3 separate regions of the Homo sapiens genome follow, and regions 2 and 3 are each linked to region 1. The links are contacts of gene promoters, found by promoter capture Hi-C in human tissues and cell types (Jung and others, 2019). All regions are on one chromosome and are shown on one strand. Each heading gives the region's core, a stretch centred on a gene start or on the middle of the fragment in contact. The rest is flanking DNA. Distances are from core to core; before and after follow the strand shown. Region 1 holds the start of SPTAN1 (spectrin alpha, non-erythrocytic 1). Region 2 holds the start of FNBP1 (formin binding protein 1). Region 3 overlaps NTMT1 (N-terminal Xaa-Pro-Lys N-methyltransferase 1).

Region 1 (3,183 bases), core at 194-2,693:
TTATATTTATTTAAAGAGGAGAGCTGCTTGGTAACCAGGAGGCTGAAGCCTTCCTAAGCTGCAGAGCTCCCCGTCTGCCTGACTGCACAGGAATGATCTGGGTGTTACTCCCAGTGGCTGCGGCCCAGCTGTCACCGGAATGGGGATAGGGAAAGGGCTTCCTAATCCAGGGCTTCTGGCTACAGAGTTTAGAGCCAGGACCTTAAACTGCTAGGACTTTAAGTATCAGAAATTCTGAGAATCTTATTTTTCTCTTTCTGCACCCCAGCAGCCACCCGCATCAAAATGCCTCCCTTTCCTATTTGAAGGCAATACACATACGGTTGCAAAGGGAAGGTTCTGACTGCTGAGATGTAAATCCTAGCTCTTCCAATTGGTAGCTGCCTGACCTGGGCCAAGAGACTTAGCCTACATGAGCATTATGTAAGAGTGCCCATTTGTAAAATGGGAAAACATCTCATAAAATTATTGCAAAGATTAAGAAATGAAAAGGTAACACGAAATACTTAGCATAGTGCCTAGTACACAAGGCAAGTTCGATTAATTGTGCCAGAAAGAACCTTAATGTCTTGTTTATGAAATAGGATGAATGTAGCCTATTCCACTGGCGACCTGTGAGAAAGCTTTTGTTGCAGGAATGTAAGAAATTATTATTTTGCCGCTGCCGTTTCCTCCCCCATAATCTCCAAGAACATAAGAAATTAACTCTCCAAATCCCAGAATGACAGCTTTATGCCCCAAATTAGTCGACTTAATTTTTTTTCTGATTCGGATTTGGCCTTTTCCTCTCACCACCTCCTCAAACCCGGGGCCCCAAATCATCCGCGTCTTCTTGACCCCAGCCCCCACCGAATTAGGCTGACTTGGGACCCCAGCGCCAGCCTCCTCCTCGGGAAAGTGAGCAGGAAGAGACGCACTCGGGTGATCTCACCCTTTGGGACTGGGCGTTTTTCCGGCCGGGGCGCGCAGCATCCCCAGCCAGACTGCAGCGATACCCCCGCCCCGCCCTTCTCCGCAGTCCTGGAAGAGCTCCCAGGGCGGAGTGGTGCGATGCAGACGACTGTCCGCAGGGCGGGCGGTGGCGGGGCGCAAGCTGCGGGGAGGGAGGTGAGGCGGGAGCGTCTCTACCGCCAGGGCGTAGGCAGTGACCTCACTGCACCATCACCCCTCACCCCTTGCGCGCGCCCCATTTCCCCATCCTCCCGCGGCCCGCCCCTCGCTCACCTCTTCCCCCGCATTGTCGCTTCGGCTCCTTCCGGGATCGCTCGGCCCTTTCCGCCGGGCGGTCGGGCGGCGAGCCGGCGGGAGCACCGCCCCCTTTGCTCCGCCGGCGCGCTCCCCCACCCCTCGCGCAGCGCCGGGGCGCTTCCCCCGGCGCTCGCGCCCGCCCGCCGCGGGAGCGCGCGTAGCCGCTTATAAAAGAGGCGGGGCGCGCGCGTCGCCGCCACTACCCGCTGCGGAGTGAACGGTGTGGAGCGGAGGCCGCGGAGGCTCCTCGGTCCTTCAGCACCCCTCGGCCCGACGCACCCACGCCCCTCACCCCCCGAGAGCCGGTGAGAGGGGCAGCCGGGGAGCTCCGGGAGGGAGCGGGGCCCCGGGCAGCCGACCCCCGGGTGGGAGCTGGGCAGCTCTTCAGGCGGGGCGGGGCCGGCGCGCGGACAGGTGAGCCGGGCGGGCCGCGGGGCTGCCTCCATTCGGCTGAGTGGGGGAAGCCGCTGCCGCTGCTTTTGTGGCGCGTGGGCTGCGGAGGAGCAGCCGGGCCGAGGCTCGGCGCCGCCGCTGGAATGTCACTGACGGGGGGAGGGGGCGCGAGGCCGCCGGGTCCCTCCCAACCACCCCCAAGCCTGGCTGCGGCGCGGCCCTGCCCTGCCCCATCCGGCTGCGGCAGGTGGGTGGGGGCTCCCTCGTCGGGATCTTCGCCAGCCGCCTCCCTGCAGAACGCTCCCCGCACCGCCCCCGGTCCCTTCCCTCGGCCGGGAGCGACTTCTGCAGCTCGTTCTTCCGAATCGCACCAGCAATGCCGGCCAGCCGTAGAGGGAGGAAGAGCCCGGGGAGCCCGAGCATAGCGTAAACGGCTCTCTGACCTTAATTTCATCCTGCATGGCGAATCTCTGCCGTCTCTCTGAACGCAGAAGGGTCTGAGACTGGCCGTCTCCTTTTCTTTCCTTGTAATAAACATTTTTCTTTCTTCCTAGTTGTGATTTGCTTGTAAATAATAGGTAAATGCAGTGCTTGCATGGTATGTGGCTCAAATCAAATAACTTAATAGCTTAGCGTTCTTGTTTGTGTGTGTGTTTCCTGGGACTGGGTCTTTCGAGTCGAGATACAGTGTCAAAAATTCTACCATACCACTGTTGAATGATAGAACAGTCTTTTGTTTGAAAGCTGTCCCTGAGAATTTGATTAGACGCTTCCCCTAGAACATCGCTTTCAAAAGTCTCTGATGTACTAGAGTAAAATATATTTTAAATAAGCGCCTTGTTAAAAGTTGAATATGTTTTAAATGAAAAGCCTAAATAGCTCAGAAAGCTGGGTTGAGATGATGCTTGAACTGTTCCAACATCTAATCAGATCTCTTTTATATAATAGATCCTAAAATATTTAAGCCCTTTGTTCTGTCTTCATCATGTTATTTTAGAAAAACTTACCATCATGGCTGTTCGGGAAGAACAGGAGAGAGGCCATATGAAGTATTTTCATAATGTGTTGAGAAATTGCGTCGTCATAGCAATTGGCCTTAAGTAAAACAGAATGTATCAAAGATGGAAGGGTGGGGGTGTCTTGGAGCCAGGAAACAGAAAATCTTGGAAATAGCAGGAGGAACACTCAGCTATATGAAGCCATTGAGTCAAGGTTCCGACTCCTTAACTAGTCGTTTATTTTCCCTTTCATTGCAGCTAACTAATGTCTTAGATTTTGAAAGGTCAAATTGAATGTGCTGCGGAGGAAAAAAAAAGTGCTGCAGTAAAGGCCTCTGTGCAGGAAATTAACAATAAGCCTTTTTTAGTAACTGGGCCAATAATTACTCAAAGGGACCCTCAAAGTGTGTTAACTGTTATCCAGGGACCTTGATGGAGAGACTGGAAAGGAGGATTTTTGCTTCATCCTGGACAAGTGTGAAGCAGTTCTTATGGCAAACCATCAGCCTAGTAACTGATTCTCTGATATGCTTTGGTCTTGGCA
Region 2 (3,183 bases), core at 249-2,748, 1.5 Mb after region 1:
TTGCCCTCAGGATTTTGGTAATAACAACCGTAGCTGCTTCTGTACCTAACAAATGGTTATGTAAAAACAATTAAAGCAAAAGAAAACAAAACAAAAAACAAGGGAGGATGTGCTCTGTTTCTGTAATTGCTCTAACCTTGTTTTATTTTGATATGAGATTTCTTGGCCTCATCTCAGATAGCAACACCACCCTACACTTTCTCCTCCACACCCTTTGCAAATAGAATTCCAAAAGGTAGTTCAGGCACTTTAGAGTTCATCCTGGGAAATGGCTCATCTTGAGGGCATTTCAGTGCAGTAACTGAGATTTCGTCTGCTCCTTCCCGGGCCGCCGCACTGCCCATCCCCTGCCCAGTGATTTCCCCAGGAATCCGGGGACGGCAGGAAAAGAGCTCCATCCACAGCCAGCCCCTCGCCTTTCCGGGGACGGCCCTCAGCCCTGAGGGCTGCCCGTTTACCGTGCGCATCCCCCGGCCAAGCATCCCCGCAAGGCGCCCCTCACCGCCAACTTTCCCCACTGGAAACTATTCTCCGAGCAACCGTTAAAGATCATTGACCCCGCGAACGCCTCTTCCTGAGGTAGATCACGTAAGATCTCTCCCTAACTCCCACTTTCCCCTCCAGACCAGACGTCGCAGTGCCCACATCCCACTCAGGATTGAGCTACCCCGAAAGAACAAGTGCGCCCGGAGCCGCCACGGGCCAGAAGTCCTCGCCTCCAGAGCGAAGACCGCACTCTCGCCCCAGCACCCCAAAACCCGACCCCCGGCGCTCGCCCCGGCCGCCCCGCTCCCGGGGAAGTGCCCGATCCGCCAGCGCCTCCGCGGAGCCAGGACAGAACTCGCGGCCGGGGCGCCCCGAGACCCAACGCAGCGCCGCGCAGCCGGGGCCTCCACGCCCCCACGCCCGGTCCCGGCCCTCCCCGGGCATCCGCGGCTCGCCCCGGGGGATTAGGGCTCGGCCCGACACACACGGCCCGCTCCGGGGCGCCGGGGACAGGGAGGCCCGCCCGCGCCGTTCCTCAGGCCGCCGGGGACCCGCACCAACTCCCCTCGCCTCCGAAGGACAAGCCGGCCCGCACCTCCTGCTCGGGCCAAGGCGGACGAGGGGCATTGGAACCCCGCCTCCTCCCCAGGCCGCGAGGACCCCGACCAGCGCGCCCTCGCCTCCGCCCAGCAGCGCGGCCCGCGCCCCCTCCCCAGGCCGCGGGGAAACGCAGCGCGCGCCCCGCATCTGCCCGCGGGCCCAGCCCCTCACTCACCCAGAGCTCGGTGCCCCAGCTCATGGTGCAGGGGACGCGAAGGGGCGCTCCGCGCGGCGGGCGCGGCTCTCTGGTCCCCCTCCCCGGCGATCCCTTTGCCCCCCGAGATCCCCGCGACGGCGGAAAGCCCGGAGTCCGCGCGGCCTCCTCCGGCTCGCAGCTCCTCGCCCGGGGTCTCCTCGGCGGCTCCTCCTCCCCGCCGCTCCACAGCAAAATGGCCCGAGGAAGCAGCAGCCGCGGCCGCCGCAGCGCCCGCCCGCCCTACACCCGGAGAGCGGGGGAGGGGCGGGAGGGGAGGGGCGGGGCCGGTCTGACAGCTCGCGCACGCGCGCCCGCCCCACCCCGGCCCGGCCCCCTCCCCCGGGCTCCCCCGGCCGGGTCCGCGTCGCCCTGGGGTCCGGAAGGACGCGGAGGGAGGTGTGAGGGACGGCGGGACCCGGATCCCTAGGACTCCCCCTGCCAATCTGGTAATGACTTCTTAGTGACCACTGTCTGCTCGCAGTACTAGCGCTTGCCTTGGAACGCGGCAGGCCCTGGGATCACCGATGCTCCGCCGCGGTCTGAGATCGCTCCCCTGCGCGTATCGCCGCTCTGGATTTAAGGACAATACTTTCCCCTGGCAGCCATGCGCGCCGAGCAGAGTCAGCCCGGGAGGCTCTTTTCCCACCGCCCGAGGGAAGCCCGAGAGTCCCGCAGGCTGGCGCGGTGGGAGTGGGGCGGTGGTAACTGCGCGCTGTGCGAATAGAGACGTCGAGGCAAGCGCGACGGCCTCGAGTGGCTAGGGAAAGAATCCAGGGGCGTGCACCCAGTGATTTCCAATCTCTGAAACCAGTGATTTCCAACTTGTTCAGCCAAGAAACTCTCAGGCGTGAAATCACGTTACCGCCTAGTGGGTAAAAGCAAAGGCGTGGGGTACACAGATAACTTGTTTGGTTCAAATCCAGCCTCCCGCACGTGCTGGCCGGGCGGAGGCGGACAATTGCTCCACCTCTGGAAGCGCAGAGCGCAGTCCACCAAATGGAGGCAAATAACGTGTCCATCTCACTGCCCGGCGGTGAGGATCAGGGGTGGGCCAAGGCCGAAGGTTGGTAAACCCAGCGCTCATTTTATCAGCAGACGGACTCCCTCTCTATATATCCAAAGGTCTGCACAAATGTTCCTGACAAGCTATGGAAAATGTTTGGAATTCCAACTCCTGAATCACTAGCCCTTTCCCCACAGCTTATCTTTCTCCCTCGGTTAATGCTACTACTGGATCCTTTTCTGAGAAACCGTGCGACTCCCAACATGGGCCCCCAGTTAAAAAATATTTTACGATGATGCATTTCTCCAATCCCACCCCACCATTTTCAACCTGCTTATCATTCTCCTCCATTAAAAGGTGGAGCTAACCCGGGTCTGGTGGCTCACGCCTGTAATCCCAGCACATCAGGAGGCCCAGGTGGGAGGATGGCTGGAGGCCAGGAATTTGAGACCAGCCTGGGCAACATCGCAAGACCCTGTCTCTACAAAAAGAAAAAAAAAAAAGTTAGCTGGGCATGGTGGCATGCACCTGTGGTCCCAGCTACTTGGGAGACTGAGACAGGAGGATCGCTTGAGCCTAGAAGGTTGAAGTTGCAGTGAGCCATGATGGTGCCATTGCCCTCCAGCTTGAGCAACAGAGCAAGACCCTGTCTCAAAAATATTAACAATAATGAATTAAAGCCGGGCATGGTGGCTCACGCCTGTAATCCCAACACTTTGGGAGGCAGAAGTGAGTGGATCATCTGAGGTCAGGAGTTTGAGAGCAGCCTGGCCAACATGGAGAAACCCCGTCTCTACTAAAAACACAAAAGTTAGCTGGGCGTGGTGACAGGGCGCCTGTAATCCCAGCTACTCAGGAGGCTGAGGCAAGAGAATCGCTTGAACCCGGGAGGCAGAAG
Region 3 (3,183 bases), core at 505-3,004, 1.1 Mb after region 1:
GAATGCAGAGGCAGGATCATGGCTCACTGCAGCCTTGACCTCCCAGGCTCAAGTGATCCTCCCACCTCAGTCTCCCTAGTAGCTACTAGAATGTGTGTATTTTTGACAGAGATGGGGTTTCTGAGCCGTGGGCTTCTTTCTCCTTCCGGCAGTGTTGTTCCCAGTGCTGGGACACCAGTGTGGGAGCTTTGTGGTCAGCTTGCGGGGAGGGTGTTATGTGCAATATTTAGAACTAAGGTCCTCCCCAGCCTGTTACCCCAAAGGGCTCCCTGATTGGTGAAGTGACTGCTGCCTTTCTTCATTGTGGCTGAAACCCTTGTGCGTGAACAGTAAAGTGAGGGGTCAGTCTGCGAGCGGATTCAAGAATCTGAAGAGGGAAGCCAGGTGCAGTGGCGTGCGCCTGTAATCTCAGCTACTTGGGAGGCTGAGCAGGGAGGATGGCTTGAGCCCAGGAGTTTGGGGCCAGCCTGGGCCACATAGTAAGACCCCATCTCAAAAAAACAAGAATCTGAAGAGAAGTTTAAGCAGGCTTCTCTCTAGGCACAGCCAAAGGATTCTGCTAAGGGTGAGAAGACCCAATCACGGATCTAAGAAGAACCCCGTTGCATCTGTTAGAAGTATTCTTGAGCTGGCTGGGCGGGGTGGGCCTACTGCTTCTGGAAAGTTCCTTCTCTTTCAGGACAGGTTCAGAATATAGTAGTGCAGAATATAGTTCTGGGGCCAGTAACAAATTTGACCAATGAAAAATCTTGGCTGGGTGCAGTGGTTTCTGCCTGTAATCCCAACACCTTGGGAGGCTGAGGCAGGTGGATTGCTTGCAGCCAGGTGTTTGAGACCAGCCTGGGCAACGTGGCAAAACTCCATATCTACAGAAAATACAAAAGTTAGCCAGGTGTGGCGGTATGTGCCTGCAGTCCCAGCTACCCTGGAGGCTGAGATGGGAGGATCACCTGAGCTGTACTCAAGTCTGGCGACAGTGAGACCCTTTCTAAAAAAAAAGAAGAAAAAATTCTCCAGCTTGTCTTGTGTTTAGTTTCCCTTCTCTTTCCTCATAGTTGCTTCCCAAAGGCCTCGTGCTCCTTCTCAGGGCATTTTCCCGTTTCCCTCTGACCACTTCTCTTGAAGCCCCTAGAGTGTTCCTGGGTCTTAAGCTTTGAGTTGTGTTTGAGGACTGTACCCGAGTTCCATATGTGGACTCTTCCGTGTTGACCCTGTAGCTCCAGGAGTCAGGCAGACGGTCTTGGACCTACGATTTGTCAACTTTGGCGACAGGCATTTGCTAGAAGCCCCCTGCTCTCCTCGTGTGGAGGCAGCACGTGCGAGGCGGTGAGCTGCAGCTCCCAGTCAGCTGCGCGTTTTCCACCGAGGGTATTTTCCCTTTACCATGGGTTTATCAGGATGTAGCAGCTGCTGCTGCTGGGATTCCTACCACCCACTGTTGCTGTGTGTCCTCAGCACGGCCACTGCCATTCTCACTCTGCCTCCTTTAGGTTAGGCCTTGGCAGTGTGGGAAACACATCAGCCGAGAGTTGGTGCCCAGCATGCACTCGAGGCCACCCTCATCCAGGCCCCGTCTGCCTTTCCGAGCTCACCTTCCACAGTCTTCCCCCGCTCCACTCTCCGCCCTCTGATGGCCCATGCTGTCCCACGGCTGCTCCCTCTGTCTGCCCCACCCCCTCCAGCACTCCCTGTGCTTGGCTGCCCAGCTCGGGCTGCCTCCTCCAGGCGGCTGCCCCTATCTGCTGTTGGGAGGAGATTCCTCTGCCCTTTGAGTGTCCTCGACACTTTGTGGGTCCATGAGAATCCTTATTTTTCTGCTGTGTATTTTCTTTCCCTTTGTTCTTTGTCCTCCTGGACTAGAGCTCTCTGAGGTCTTGGCAAGCCTCACAGCAACTAGAACAGCCCCTAAGCGTGGTGTGCCTTGGTGACAGCACTGTGCCTTGGGAAGCTTATGGCAGAATGGCCACCCGTGGAGCACGGAGCCGCCCAACTGTCATCGCTGTCCTGAAGGGTGAGGTGGGCCTGGGCTCTGCTGCCAGGACCCAGCTGAGGCTTTCTAGTTCTCTCTCCTTCTACCGTGGCAACCGTCTCCTCATCCCCCTGCCATCTCCACCGCCGCCAGCAGTCTTCAGAAGCATCGGTCTTCCCGGGCCACTCTCTGTTGGGCCTCAGGGTGGTTGACTCATTGCTCTGTAGGATGCAGTCGAAACTGCTAGAGTTGACTGTGAGACCAGGAACTGGCAGCCGCGAGGGCTGTCTGTCCTTCCCTCCAGGAGCAGTGCCGTCGCCCTCCACCTACTGCGCTTATTCTTGCCCATCCATCGGTTTCAGCTTACGCGTCCCCTCCTCAGGGATGCCTTCCCTGGTCCCCGCACCCGACTCCACTTCCTCCCTCCGTGCTCTGCTGGCACTGGCGCTTCTCCTCTGCAGCCCTCCCTGCAGGTGTGGTTGTGTCTGTAGAATTGTTTTCTGCCTGGCTGGCTGCCTGGTTCACAGCCCGGTGCCTGGCACAGAGTCCCCACTCCTTGTTAACGGAGGACTGGACCCCACCGTGAGTTGTTGCTGTGCTCTGAGCCAGAGGAAGGGAGGCGTGGAAGCTTCCCTGGCCCTCCAGGGTCTGCTGGTGCTCTCGGCTTTGCGGTCGTTTCTCTTTATTGATCAGGGTTTTCTGTGCCCTGAAGCCACTGAGTCAGGTGTCATATAGAGCATATCAAGAACTTGAAGCCAGGCCAGGCACATGGGCTCACACCCGTAATCCCAGCACTTTGGGAGGCCAAGGTGGGAGAATCTCTTGAGGTCAGGACTTCAAGACCAACCTTTGTAACATAGTGAGACCCCATCTCTACAAAAAATAATTAGCCAGGCATGGTGGCACACAACTGTAGTCCTAGCTGCTCCGGAGGGTGAGGTGGGAGGGTCTCTTGAGCTCGGGAGTTGGAGGCTGCATTGAGCTATGATCACACCACTGCACTCCAGAAAAAATAAAAATGTAAAAGAACTTGAAGCCAGGACTTGGGGCGGGTGCTCTGAGTGCAAAAGACAGAAGATGCTGTTATCCAAGGGGTAGAAGCAGATTTGGGGACCCTGGACTTCTCTCTGCACTCAGCAGGATGTGTGACTTGTGAAGCCTGGTGTGAGACTGGCCCTCTGCCCTGGGGGCCTTTCTGCCAGGTCCCTGGCCCG

Evidence for each region. Contacts are between HindIII fragments. The study calls those that stand out against the background at their distance.
Region 2: the fragment with the promoter of FNBP1 here is called in contact with the fragment with the promoter of SPTAN1 in region 1 in 1 of the 25 tissues and cell types used here (heart left ventricle).
Region 3: a contact is called between a fragment that was not itself captured here and the fragment with the promoter of SPTAN1 in region 1, in 1 of the 25 tissues and cell types used here (hippocampus).

The regions. Positions count from the first base shown.
Region 1 is chr9:128,551,144-128,554,326 of GRCh38, forward strand. It overlaps SPTAN1 (spectrin alpha, non-erythrocytic 1), which reads left to right and starts at 1,444. Exons shown (of 57, transcript NM_001130438.3): 1 at 1,444-1,553. It overlaps LOC101929270 (a long non-coding RNA gene), which reads right to left and starts at 1,270. Exons shown (of 4, transcript NR_188457.1): 1 at 1,225-1,270. RefSeq lists a silencer at 1,088-1,857. The HindIII fragment of the contact is 8,229 bases long and covers 1-3,183 here.
Region 2 is chr9:130,041,691-130,044,873 of GRCh38, forward strand. FNBP1 (formin binding protein 1) reads right to left here and starts at 1,499. Exons shown (of 17, transcript NM_015033.3): 1 at 1,262-1,499. The coding sequence starts at 1,285. RefSeq lists silencers at 862-1,021, 1,202-1,761. The HindIII fragment of the contact is 16,914 bases long and covers 1-3,183 here.
Region 3 is chr9:129,629,440-129,632,622 of GRCh38, forward strand. All of the region lies in intron 1 of NTMT1 (N-terminal Xaa-Pro-Lys N-methyltransferase 1), which reads left to right. Among named protein-coding and RNA genes, the nearest start is that of NTMT1, 4.9 kb to the left of the region's middle. RefSeq lists an enhancer at 1,912-2,702. The HindIII fragment of the contact is 4,298 bases long and covers 1-3,183 here.